Linked DNA regions of Homo sapiens: region 1 is linked to region 2. The links are contacts of gene promoters, found by promoter capture Hi-C in human tissues and cell types (Jung and others, 2019). All regions are on one chromosome and are shown on one strand. The core of a region is centred on a gene start or on the middle of the fragment in contact, and the rest is flanking DNA. Distances in the headings are between cores, read along the strand shown. Region 1 holds the start of CGB2 (chorionic gonadotropin subunit beta 2). Region 2 holds the start of TEAD2 (TEA domain transcription factor 2).

The links. The method cuts DNA at HindIII sites, captures the fragments that hold promoters and counts their contacts. A contact is called where the count stands out against the background at its distance.
Region 1: a contact is called between a fragment that was not itself captured here and the fragment with the promoter of TEAD2 in region 2, in 1 of the 25 tissues and cell types used here (lymphoblastoid cells).

What each region holds. Positions count from the first base shown.
Region 1 is chr19:49,029,572-49,034,781 of GRCh38, reverse strand. CGB2 (chorionic gonadotropin subunit beta 2) reads right to left here and starts at 2,892. Exons shown (of 3, transcript NM_033378.2): 1 at 2,678-2,892; 2 at 2,111-2,278; 3 at 1,544-1,875. The coding sequence starts at 2,686. The coding sequence ends at 1,561. It overlaps SNAR-G2 (small NF90 (ILF3) associated RNA G2), which reads left to right and starts at 2,995; the gene lies at 2,995-3,113. It also overlaps the pseudogene NTF6G. The HindIII fragment of the contact is 6,350 bases long and covers 379-5,210 here.
Region 2 is chr19:49,358,649-49,363,665 of GRCh38, reverse strand. TEAD2 (TEA domain transcription factor 2) reads left to right here and starts at 1,250. Exons shown (of 13, transcript NM_001256660.2): 1 at 1,250-1,333; 2 at 3,585-3,822; 3 at 4,167-4,231. The coding sequence starts at 3,591. It also overlaps a transcript of DKKL1 not described here. RefSeq lists enhancers at 1,457-2,165, 2,166-2,875, 3,421-3,921. The HindIII fragment of the contact is 13,886 bases long and covers 1-5,017 here.

The sequences.
Region 1 (5,210 bases), core at 2,304-4,803, 330 kb after region 2:
TACTCAATAGCAACAGATGGTAAAATACAGGCTCAGAGAAATTAATGATTTGTGCCTGGTCACACAGCCAACAAATGGCAGAGATGGGACTTCAACTCTGGGCAACTGCACTCTGCCATCCTTCCTGTAGAACTCTGAGGAACTGAGAGTCTTGCATCTTGGAGGATGTTCCAATCAATTTTTTTTTTTTTTTTGAGACGGAGTCTCGCTCTGTTGTTGAGACTGGACTGCAGTGGCGCGATCTCGGCTCACTGCAAGATCCGCCTCCCGGGTTCCTGCCATTCTCCTGCCTCGGCCTCCCAAGTAGCTGGGACTACAGGCGCCCACCAGGACGCCTGGCTAATTTGTTGTATTTTTTAGTAGAGACGGAGTTTCCCCATGTTAGCCAGGATAGTCTTGATCTCCTGACTTTGTGATCCGCCCGTCTCGGCTTCCCAAAGTGCTGGGATTACAGGCATGAACCACTGCGCCAGGCCCAATTTTGTTTGTTTGTTTTGTTGTTTTGGGAAAGGGTGGCATGGAGAAGACTGGGAAACAACCAGTGGTCACCAGAGCTGTAGCACCTCCTTCACCTCTGAGCTCTGGGGCTGGGAACCCCAGGCTTCGGAGGCCACTGTGGAGGACGCAGGTGGCCCCCTCTTTCCTGACATCTCAGGACAGGGAGGGGCAACCGGCTAGGGGAAGAAAAGAACAGGAAGGTTATACAGCCAGGTGGGGAAGGGGCCAAATCCCTGAACAACCCCTTCCCAGAGTTCCTCTTCAAGCGCAGGGTACCCAAGAGTCAAGGCCCCGCCCCCTTTCCAGAGGCCCCTTTTCTACTTAGGTGACGGCTCCTGGCTGGGATGGGAGGTAGATGGACCGGGGGTGGGAGGGGGGGGAGGAGGGGAAGGGAGAGGCAGTGGATGAAGGAGAATGGAAGAGATGACATCCCCCTTGGCCCATTCATCCCATTCAGGTCCCCAAGCCCCCACCTGGACTGCCAGTGCCAACCTCAGAGGGTGGAAGAGGGAGCTCGGCTTAGAATGCTGAGGCCCTGCCCCCTGGGCCACACCAATCGTGTGGCCTTCCTTCTCCCCACGGAAGGCCAGACCATGGACACCTCCTGAGCTGGATGTCATCCCCCATCTCCACCCTCTTTTCTTTTTCTTTCTTTCTTTCTTTTTTTTTTTTTTTTGAGATGGAGTCTCGCTCTGTCGTGCAGGCTGGAGTGCAGTGGCGCGATCTCTGCTCACTGCAACCTCCCGCTCCCAGGTTCACTGCATTCTCCTGCAAGCGCCCGCCACCAAGCCCGGATAACTTTTCGTATTTTTAGTAGAGACGGGGTTTCACCGTGTTAGCCAGGATGGTCTCGATCTCCTGACCTCATGATCCGCCTGCCTCGGCCTCCCAAAGTGGTGGGATTACAGGCGTGAGCCACCACGCCCAGCCGTCCACCCTGTTTTCTACCAGAGTTCTGTACTGTGACTCTGTATAAAATGGTTTGGAAGCTGGACCCACCCTGTGTGTGTGGTTGCCCTGAGCCCACAGAAAGACACCGCCAGAGTGCGGATTGAGAAGCCTTTATTGTGGGAGGATCGGGGTGTCTGAGGGCCCCGGGAGTCGGGATGGGCTTGGAAGGCTGGGGGGAGGGGCCTTTGAGGAAGAGGAGGCCTGGAAGCGGGGGTCATCACAGGTCAAGGGGTGGTCCTTGGGACCCCCGCAGTCAGTGGTGCTGCGGCGGCAGAGTGCACATTGACAGCTGAGAGCCACGGCGTAGGAGACCACGGGGTTCACGCCGCGCGGGCAGCCAGGGAGCCGGATGGACTCGAAGCGCACATCGCGGTAGTTGCACACCACCTGAGGCAGGGCCGGCAGGACCCCCTGCAGCACGCGGGTCTGGAAGCCGTGTGAGTGGGAGAATGAGCATGTGCCTGGGGCCAGCGCCTCAGCTGAGCTCCCCAGCTGCCCCCACAGGTCTCAGACTCAGGGGTCCAGGAAGCCCTCTGTTCCTGCCCTCCCACACCCCATTCCGCAGCCCCTGACCAGAGAGGCAGACCACCCTTCCTCCCCCGCTGCCTCTGTGGGTCTGGCCCTGAGGTGGCAGCACCTGCCCCGGCCCCGGGCAGCTCACCATGGTGGGGCAGTAGCCGGCACAGATGGTGGTGTTGACGGTGATGCACACGGGGCAGCCCTCCTTCTCCACAGCCAGGGTGGCATTGATGGGGCGGCACCGTGGCCGAAGCGGCTCCTTGGATGCCCATGTCCCGCCCATGCTCAGCAGCAGCAACAGCAGCAGCCCCTGGGACAAGGACACTGCTTCACCCGGGTCTGAGACCGCAGCCCCGAGTCCTGGCCTTCCCATCCCGCGTGGTACACCACCCACAAAGACCCAGAGACCCTTCGTGGCATCTCCTATTCAGGACCCACCACCCGGACACCTGCCTTTCAGAGCCCACCCCACAGCCCAGAGGATCTCAGATACCCCAACATTTTAGATCCCCACCCTCAGGAACTGCCCCACCTGAAGCTTACTGGGGGTCACGCTCCTCCAGAAAGAGGCCTCCTTCCACAGCTCACACTGGTCTGCCCCTTCTCATGCCAGTGATGGCCTGGAAGCAGGTGGAAGGTGCCCAGGGGCCCTGCAGTCTTTCCTGGAACATCTCCATCTTTGGTGCCTGGAAATGTCGATCTACCCTACCTTTGACATGTCTCTCTCTTAGCGGGATATCTTCCGCAAGCACTGGGGATGTGGACATGGAAAGTAAATTGAGTCTCCGTGGGGGAGTGAGACAGGGAGTGAGGGGTGTTGGACGCGGCACGGGAACCCGGCCGGAGTCAGCGGACCCAATTGGCTGCTCTCTCTCAGATACAGTTCCCCTTCCTCCCTCCAGGGGGCGCCACGGAACGCAGGGCCCTCACTGGCCCTGGGGACTGGGTGACGTCAGGGGTGAGCCTCTCCTGATTGGCTCCATCACCCTGCGTAAGGTCAAAAGGAAGAAAGGAGATCCCCGACACCCCGAGCTATTGTGGCTCCGACCGGTTGCGCGTGCCCTCGGGCCCTCAGGGAGGGGAGGGTTCGAGGGTACGAGTTCGAGGCCAACCGGGTCCACATTGGTTGAGAAAAAAATTTTTTTATCGTTCCCTATATAATAACAAAACATAAAGGGAGGACGCCTTGATAGGAAGAAATGACATCTTCCTAAGTGTTTTTAAATTACTTCAATGTATCTTTTTTTTTTTTGGGAGACCGAGGCTTGCTCGGTCCTCGGGGGACCTCCCTGCCTGTCAGCCATGGCGGTCGTCACCTGTGGTAAACAGAATGGCGGGAGCAAGTGGGATGTCCCACTACTCGGGCTGAGGCAGGAGAATCACAGGAACCTAGGAGGTGGAACCTCCTCGCCCAGGAGGGGCGCGGCTTCGGACTTAGTTTCTGCCCAATGAGAGAGGGCCTCCCCGTGACTGTGCTGCCAGGTTAGCCACTTGACCCTGGTGCCGCCAACGAGGGATTCAGCCCGAGCCCCACCTCTCCCTTAGGGACCTCTGCCCACTCTACCCTCAAGCCAGGATGCCCGGAGCGGTCCCCGGAAATGCGTGTGCTTCAGGTGATTTAACTGATTATTGAATAGGCCCGCAGGAGGTGTGTCCTGCCCCCGAGGCCTCAGCCTCAGAGGACATTATCTGGACTTAGTCCCTTCCCCGCGATGCCATCAAGCTGGACAATTTTAAGGTCTGTTTCTTTCCCAGTGTAGGGTATAGGTTGGCACAGGGAAGAGGGCTAGAAACCTGACTTGAGCTCCCCGCCCAGGGCTGAACTCTCCAGCATCCTGATCACTTCTCATTGAACCTTGCTTATACTCCCCGTGTGATCGGTAGCTCTTTATCTCAAAACAAAATATTCTAAGCCGACCCCTGCCCACTCTCACCAAGTAAGATTTCTCATTTGAACCCCAGCTCCCAGATACTTAAAGGCCTTCTGTAGACCATGTCCTCAAGGTCCCCTGGCCATCTGCTTGCATGTTCCAGTTTCCCTCCTCCCCCATGCACATCGTGAAATGTGCCCTCCCACTCCCCAGGATGAGCAAGGTGGTGTCCTCTGTGACTGAGCAGTCAGCAACTTAACACCAAAGGTCACCAATGATCAAATCCATGAGAGTTGATCCGAGGAGTTATGTATTAGGGCTACGAAAGAGTAAACACTCAGTAAATAGTGGCTATTATTATTATCATCATCATCATGATTACCCTCAAGTTCCCCTGGGAGAGCTCCTATTCAACCTTCAAAACCCCACGTTGTTGCACCCATCCTACAGAGATTGAGCTCAAATTCAGAGAGTTGTGATTTTGCGATGATTTGATGAGTTCCCCAACTGGGGTCCGTCCGTAGAGCAGCTGGGCCAACCCTGAGGTCTCTCAGCATCCAGCTCTGTTCTTTTTCTGCCTGACCAGTTCCTGGGTATAAGTCTCAGGCCCGGCCAGTCCGGCTGAGGAGTGTGCAGACACAGGCTGTGCCAGTTTGAATCCATCGCCAGTCCACACGGCCCTGGGCATCAGCGGTCAATGCCCGCACATAGGACTGCTTGGCCTTGCACTCAGACACCCAGTGCCCCCCGGTCCACACCCCAGCGGCAGCCCCTCCACCTACCCCTGGGCCACCTTCTTCAGAGTTATCGGCCTTGAAGCAGGTGACAAAGAAGTGTTGGTGGAGGGAACTGCTGCCAGCTGCAGGCACCTCACCCAACACCTCCACCTCGAGCACAACCAAGTCCACAGCGGTCCGGGGGTCTGTCACCCAGACACTGACTGCATCGCACACGGCCAGCTCACCCTGATGACTCGCCGGTGAAGTATCGCTCACCCCTCGCTGGCTGCGGTTGGCCCGGGTGCCTGCTGACTCCCAAAAGGCCCCAGTCTCCAGCAGGAAGACCAGAGGGGGCCCGGCAGCGGCACCCCTAGACAGGACCACTTGGGGGAAAATAAGGTCCCACTCTGGAGGAGGAAAAGGGGACAATGTCAAGGGTGGGGGTTAGGACTCCATTGACACACTGGGGAGGAAGCAAATGAGGGGGATGCAGAGGGAGCCTGGGGGAGCGGGAGCATCTCTCAGAGGACATGGAAACAGGGAAAAGGAGGCTGGGATTAGAGAAGAGGATAAACACTTCAGTGAGGTCAGAAGTTGGGAACCCCAGGGGAGGCCTGCCTGCCAGGATTATGGGGAAGCCCTTGCTCTAGAA
Region 2 (5,017 bases), core at 1-2,500:
CCCACGTCAGTTGACCTCAGTCCTGGAGACCAAGTCCTGGAAGTCCTGGCGGTGTTCTCTGATTGCGGCCCTCGTTTCGGAGTCCCGCCCAATCGCAATGGCCACGCCCCTTGGCTGAAAGCCACGCCCCTGCACTGGGCCACGCCCCTGCACTGGACCACGCCCCTGCGTCCCAGATCTTGCCCTCATCACCCCAAGTTCCAGTCCTAGGCTCCTCCTACTGGAGACACCGGAGTACAAGCATCCCTTTTAGCTCTCACTCTAATTGTGTATCTGTTTCGGAACCTTTTCTCCGTGTCCCTTCTGGTTTTCCCGCTCCCGCTCCACTAAAAAGTCCCGTTGTCTCCGGAAACCCTAAATCCAGTCTTATATTTCATCTTCCAAGGAACCCAGAATCAGACTTCCTTTTCCCTGAGGACCTCAGGTCCGGACTCCCGCCCCCTCTAGTCCCGTAATTTTGAACACGCAGCCTTTCACCCTTAAGGGACCGGGCCCTAAGCCATCTTCCCTCAGGCACCAAAGCTCTCTTCCCCGTCCCGGGACAGCCGCCAGCCGTCTCCAGTCCACTAGCGCCTGTAGATGAGGAATCTGCACCTACGTGGGCCTCCAATAAACTCCCGGTGGTCCTGCCCACGACTCTTAACTGTGGTGAGGTCACAAGGAAACCAGGTCGTCATAGGAATCAGTCAAAACCCATCCCCAGACCCCAATCCTCAAAAAAAAAAAAAAACAAAAAAAACAAAAAACAAAAAAACCAAAAACCAAACAGAAAAAAAGAAAAAAAACCTCAGGGCTTAACAGTAAAGACTCTTTGTATTCGTATCACTTCCGCACCCCCAATACACAAACACGAGGGTAGCCGGGATTCCAGGCGCCTAGCCCCGTCCCCTCTCAGACCTAGGAGCCCATATCTCTCTCCAGCCGCTTCCTCTCCCAGACCCAGGAGTCCCAGCCCCCAGACCCAGGAGTCCCAGCCCCCAGCCTCTCCTCCCTCAGATCAGGGGTTTCTGGCTCCTATCAGCCTTTTCCCTCCGACTTGGAGTCCGAACCCCCAATCCCCCTCCTTTCCCAAGCACCCAAATCCTGAGTTCCTACCAGCCCCGAGATAGACTAATCTCTCCCAAAGCAAAAATCCTTCCCCAAACTGTCACCGTCGGATCCCCCTTCCCGCTGTCCGCCGGCCGGGCCCGCCCCCCCCTCCGGTCCCTCCCACTTTTCCCAAACAAAGCTCCCGGCAACTTTCTCCCTCGCAGCGCCCCGCCCGCCCGCGGCTCCCCAGCCCCAGGCCGGGAGGTAGGAAGGCGCCGGCGGGAGTCGGGGATCCTGCTTTGGGGTGTGTGAGTTGGGGTGGGGAGTTGCTTCTTAGGAGGTGAGGCGTGCGTTTGCGGGACCGTCTCTGAATGGTTCGCAGCCCTCTTTTTGCCCGGGGGCCCGAATTTGCTCCCGTGACCGAGCCTCAGTGAGGAGTGGGAACTCTGGCCGGAGTTAGGGTGCCTGCGGCTGGGTCTGAGTTTGGGCGTGCGCGCAGGAGCGGGTGCGGGCCAAGGGCGCTGGCGGGGTGTGGGGCGTGCGTCTGCGGCGGTGTCACTTTGGAGTGAGAAGGACCCCTTGTGTAATCTGGGGGGCATTTGGTCCTTCTTACGGAGAAGGGAGGGCCTCTGGGGTGGCCGAGGGGAGGTTACGGGGCTTTCTGGATCTTAAGTCTTGCCTCTTTGGAGGTTTAGGGTCTGGGGCGGGAAATTAGGGGGACCTTTCTTACCCGGCTCCACCGTCCCTTTGTCTGGCCACATGGGGAAGGGCTGGGCTGGGATTTTGGCCTACGGGGGTCCTGAACGCCGCAGCGCCACTGGGCTTGGCTGGGGTCTTTGTCTGCTATGGTCGGCGGGAGGAGGGGAATAGGGGCCTGGACTCTGGGGTCCTGGGAAAGCTGTGGAGGACATGGAGCCTCCGGGGAGGCGGGATCTGACTGTATTGGAAAAAGTTTTCCCTGTTCCCGGCCTCCGGAAAGTCACTGGGAACTTGAGTTGGATCAGAGCCCACGGCGCACGGGGGAGGGGAGGGGCGGGGCCCGGTGCCGGAGGGGAGTCGCCCTGGCCGGCAAGCCCCTCCCCTGATGGGGGTTGTGGGAAGCTGGGGGAGGGGACGCCTGGGCCCTTTGTTCTGGCTCTTCTGATGGCAGGGCGCCCCTGTCCCCCAGCTTGTGGTTCTGTGGGTCTCTCCTGGTCTCGGCCTCAGCTGCTGCCCTGAGTCTCTGTCCCTGCCCTTTCTAGGTCTCCGTCTCCCTTTCTCTGGGTCTCTGTTGCCCTCTCTCTGAGCCTCTGTCCCCCTCTCTCTGAGTCTGTGTCCCCCTCTCTCTGGGTCTCTGGTCCCCTCTCTCTCTGGGTCTCTGTCCCTCTCTCTCTGGGTCTCTGTCCCCCTCTCTCTGGGTCTCTGTCACCCTCTCTCTCTGGGTCTCTGTCTCCCTCTCTGGGCCTCTGGACCCCTCTCTCTGGTCCCTGTCCCCCCCCCCCGGTCTCTGTCCCCCTCTTTCTGGTCTCTGTCTCCCCCTCTCCCTGGGTCTCTGTCTCCCTCTCTTTTTGGGTCTCTGTCCCTCTCTCTGGGTCTCTGTCCCCCTCTCTGGTCTCTGTCCCCCCCTCCCTCTGGTCTCTGTCCCCCCCTCCCTCTGGTCTCTGTCCCCCTCTCTCTCTGGGTCTCTGTCCCCTCCGTCACTGGTCTCTGTCCCCCCCTTCACTGGGTCTCTGTCCCCTTCTCTCTCTGGTCTCTGTCCCCCTCTGTCTCTGGGTCTCTATCCCCACCTCACTGGTCTCTGTCCCCCTCTCTCTCTGGTCTCTGTCCCCTTCTCTCTCTGGGTCTCTGTCCCCCCCCCTTGCTGGTCTCTGTCCCCATCCCCTCTCTGGGTCTCTGTCCCCCTCCCTCTCTGGGTCTCTGTCCCCCTCTCTCTAGACCTCCCCTCAGTCTTGCTTGGCCCCTCTTCTTTTCTGGCAGCTGCTGCTCACATCTTACCACCTGTTCTTGGGGTGGGACAGGGGAAGTTTCACCCACACCTTCCTTCCCCACCACTAACTTTTGCCTCCTGTCTTCTTTAAAACCCGTAATTCATACCCGAACCTTTAGCCTTCATGGCCCTCGGCATTACTCTAGGGTAATCATTGTGACTTCATCACAATTGAGTTCCTCTGGAAACTCTGAGAACACTCCCATCCTCAGCTTTCCAAGAAATCCAGCTCCTTCTCCTCCCTCAGACTCAGGAGTCCAGACCCCAGCCCCTTCTCCCTCACACCCAGGAGTCCAGGCCTCCAGCCCCCGCTCCCTCAGACCCAGGAGTCCAGGCCCCAGATCCTCCTCCCTCAGTCCTAGGAGTCCGGGCCCCAGCCCCTCCTCCCTCAGACTCAGGAGTTCAGGCCCCAGATCCTCCTCCCTCAGACCCAGGAATACCCCCCAGCTCCTCTTCCCTCAGACCCAGGAGTCCAGGTCCCCAGCCCCTCCTCCCTCAGACCCAGTGGTCCAGAGTCCCAGCCCTCTCAGCTTCAAGTCCCTTGAGGGTGGGGTTTGGGGGAAGCTTGCTGAGTTCTGTGTTCCTCCAGGCCCAGATGGGGGAACCCCGGGCTGGGGCCGCCCTGGACGATGGCAGCGGCTGGACGGGCAGTGAGGAAGGCAGTGAGGAGGGTACCGGCGGCAGTGAGGGGGCTGGGGGTGACGGGGGCCCGGATGCAGAGGGGGTGTGGAGCCCAGACATTGAGCAGAGCTTCCAGGAGGCCCTGGCCATCTATCCACCCTGCGGCCGCCGGAAAATAATTTTGTCTGATGAAGGCAAGATGTATGGTGAGTCTACTTCTGTCTTTTGCCCTGGCCCCCACTGATGAATAATGACAGTAACCAAGGTTTATGGAGCACTCTGAAGTAGGAGCTAGCATCACCATTTGCACAGATGAGGAAACTGAGGCACAGCTAGGTTAAGTGATTTGCTTATGGTCGCACAGAGCCAGTGCGTGATGGAGCTGGGATTTGAACCCAAGCAGTCTGGCTTCCACGTAGCTGAGGGGACCGGCAGCCCACTTGCTGCAGACCTTTGGGGACCCATGCTGCTTTCTTCTTCCCTGGTGTCCATGCTGTGGGGAAGTTCTGTTGAAAGTCTAACTAACTCTGTTCCGTCTTTGAATCTTCAGGTCGGAATGAACTGATCGCCCGCTACATCAAGCTGAGAACGGGGAAGACCCGAACTCGAAAACAGGTCTCGGAATGGACTTGTGGGCTTCTGTCTGGGATGGGCCGGTCTTCTTAGGGTCATCCTCGCATGGGCAGGTTCAGGTTCAAGGAAGAAGCTGCTTCCTGTGCGTTCATCTGTCTTCTCGGCATGTGTGTTAGTCCGTTTGTATTGCTATAAAGAATTACCCGAGGCTGGGTTATTTATGTATTTGTTTATTTTTTGAAATGGAGTCTAGCTCTGTTGCCCAGGCCGGAGTGCAGTGGCGCGATCTTGGCTCACTGCAACCTCTGCCTCCCGGGTTCAAGCAATTCTCCTGTCTCAGCCTCCCGAGTAGCAGGGATTACAGACATGCACTACCATGCCTGGGTAATTTTGTATTTTTAGTAGAGATGGGGTTTCACCATGTTGTCCAGGCTGGTCTCGAACTCCTGACCTCAGGTGATCCACTCACCTCAGCCCCCCAAAGTGCTGGGATTGCTGGGATTACAGGCGTGAGCTACTGTGCCTGGCAAGGCTGGATAATTGATAAAGAGCTTTAGGCTGGGCCAGTGGCTCATGCCTGTTATCCCAGCACTTTAGGTGAGCGGATCAGGAGGTCAGGAGATCGAGACCATCCTGACCAACATGGTGAAACCCCGTCTCTACTAAAAATACAAAAATTAGCTGGGAGTGGCAGTGTGTGCCCATAATCCCAGCTACTCGGGAGGCTGAGGCACGAAAATCGCTTGAACCCGGGAGGCGGAGGTTGCAGTGAGCCAAGATCGTGCTACTGCACTCCAGCCTGGTGACAGAGCCAGACTCCACCTCAAA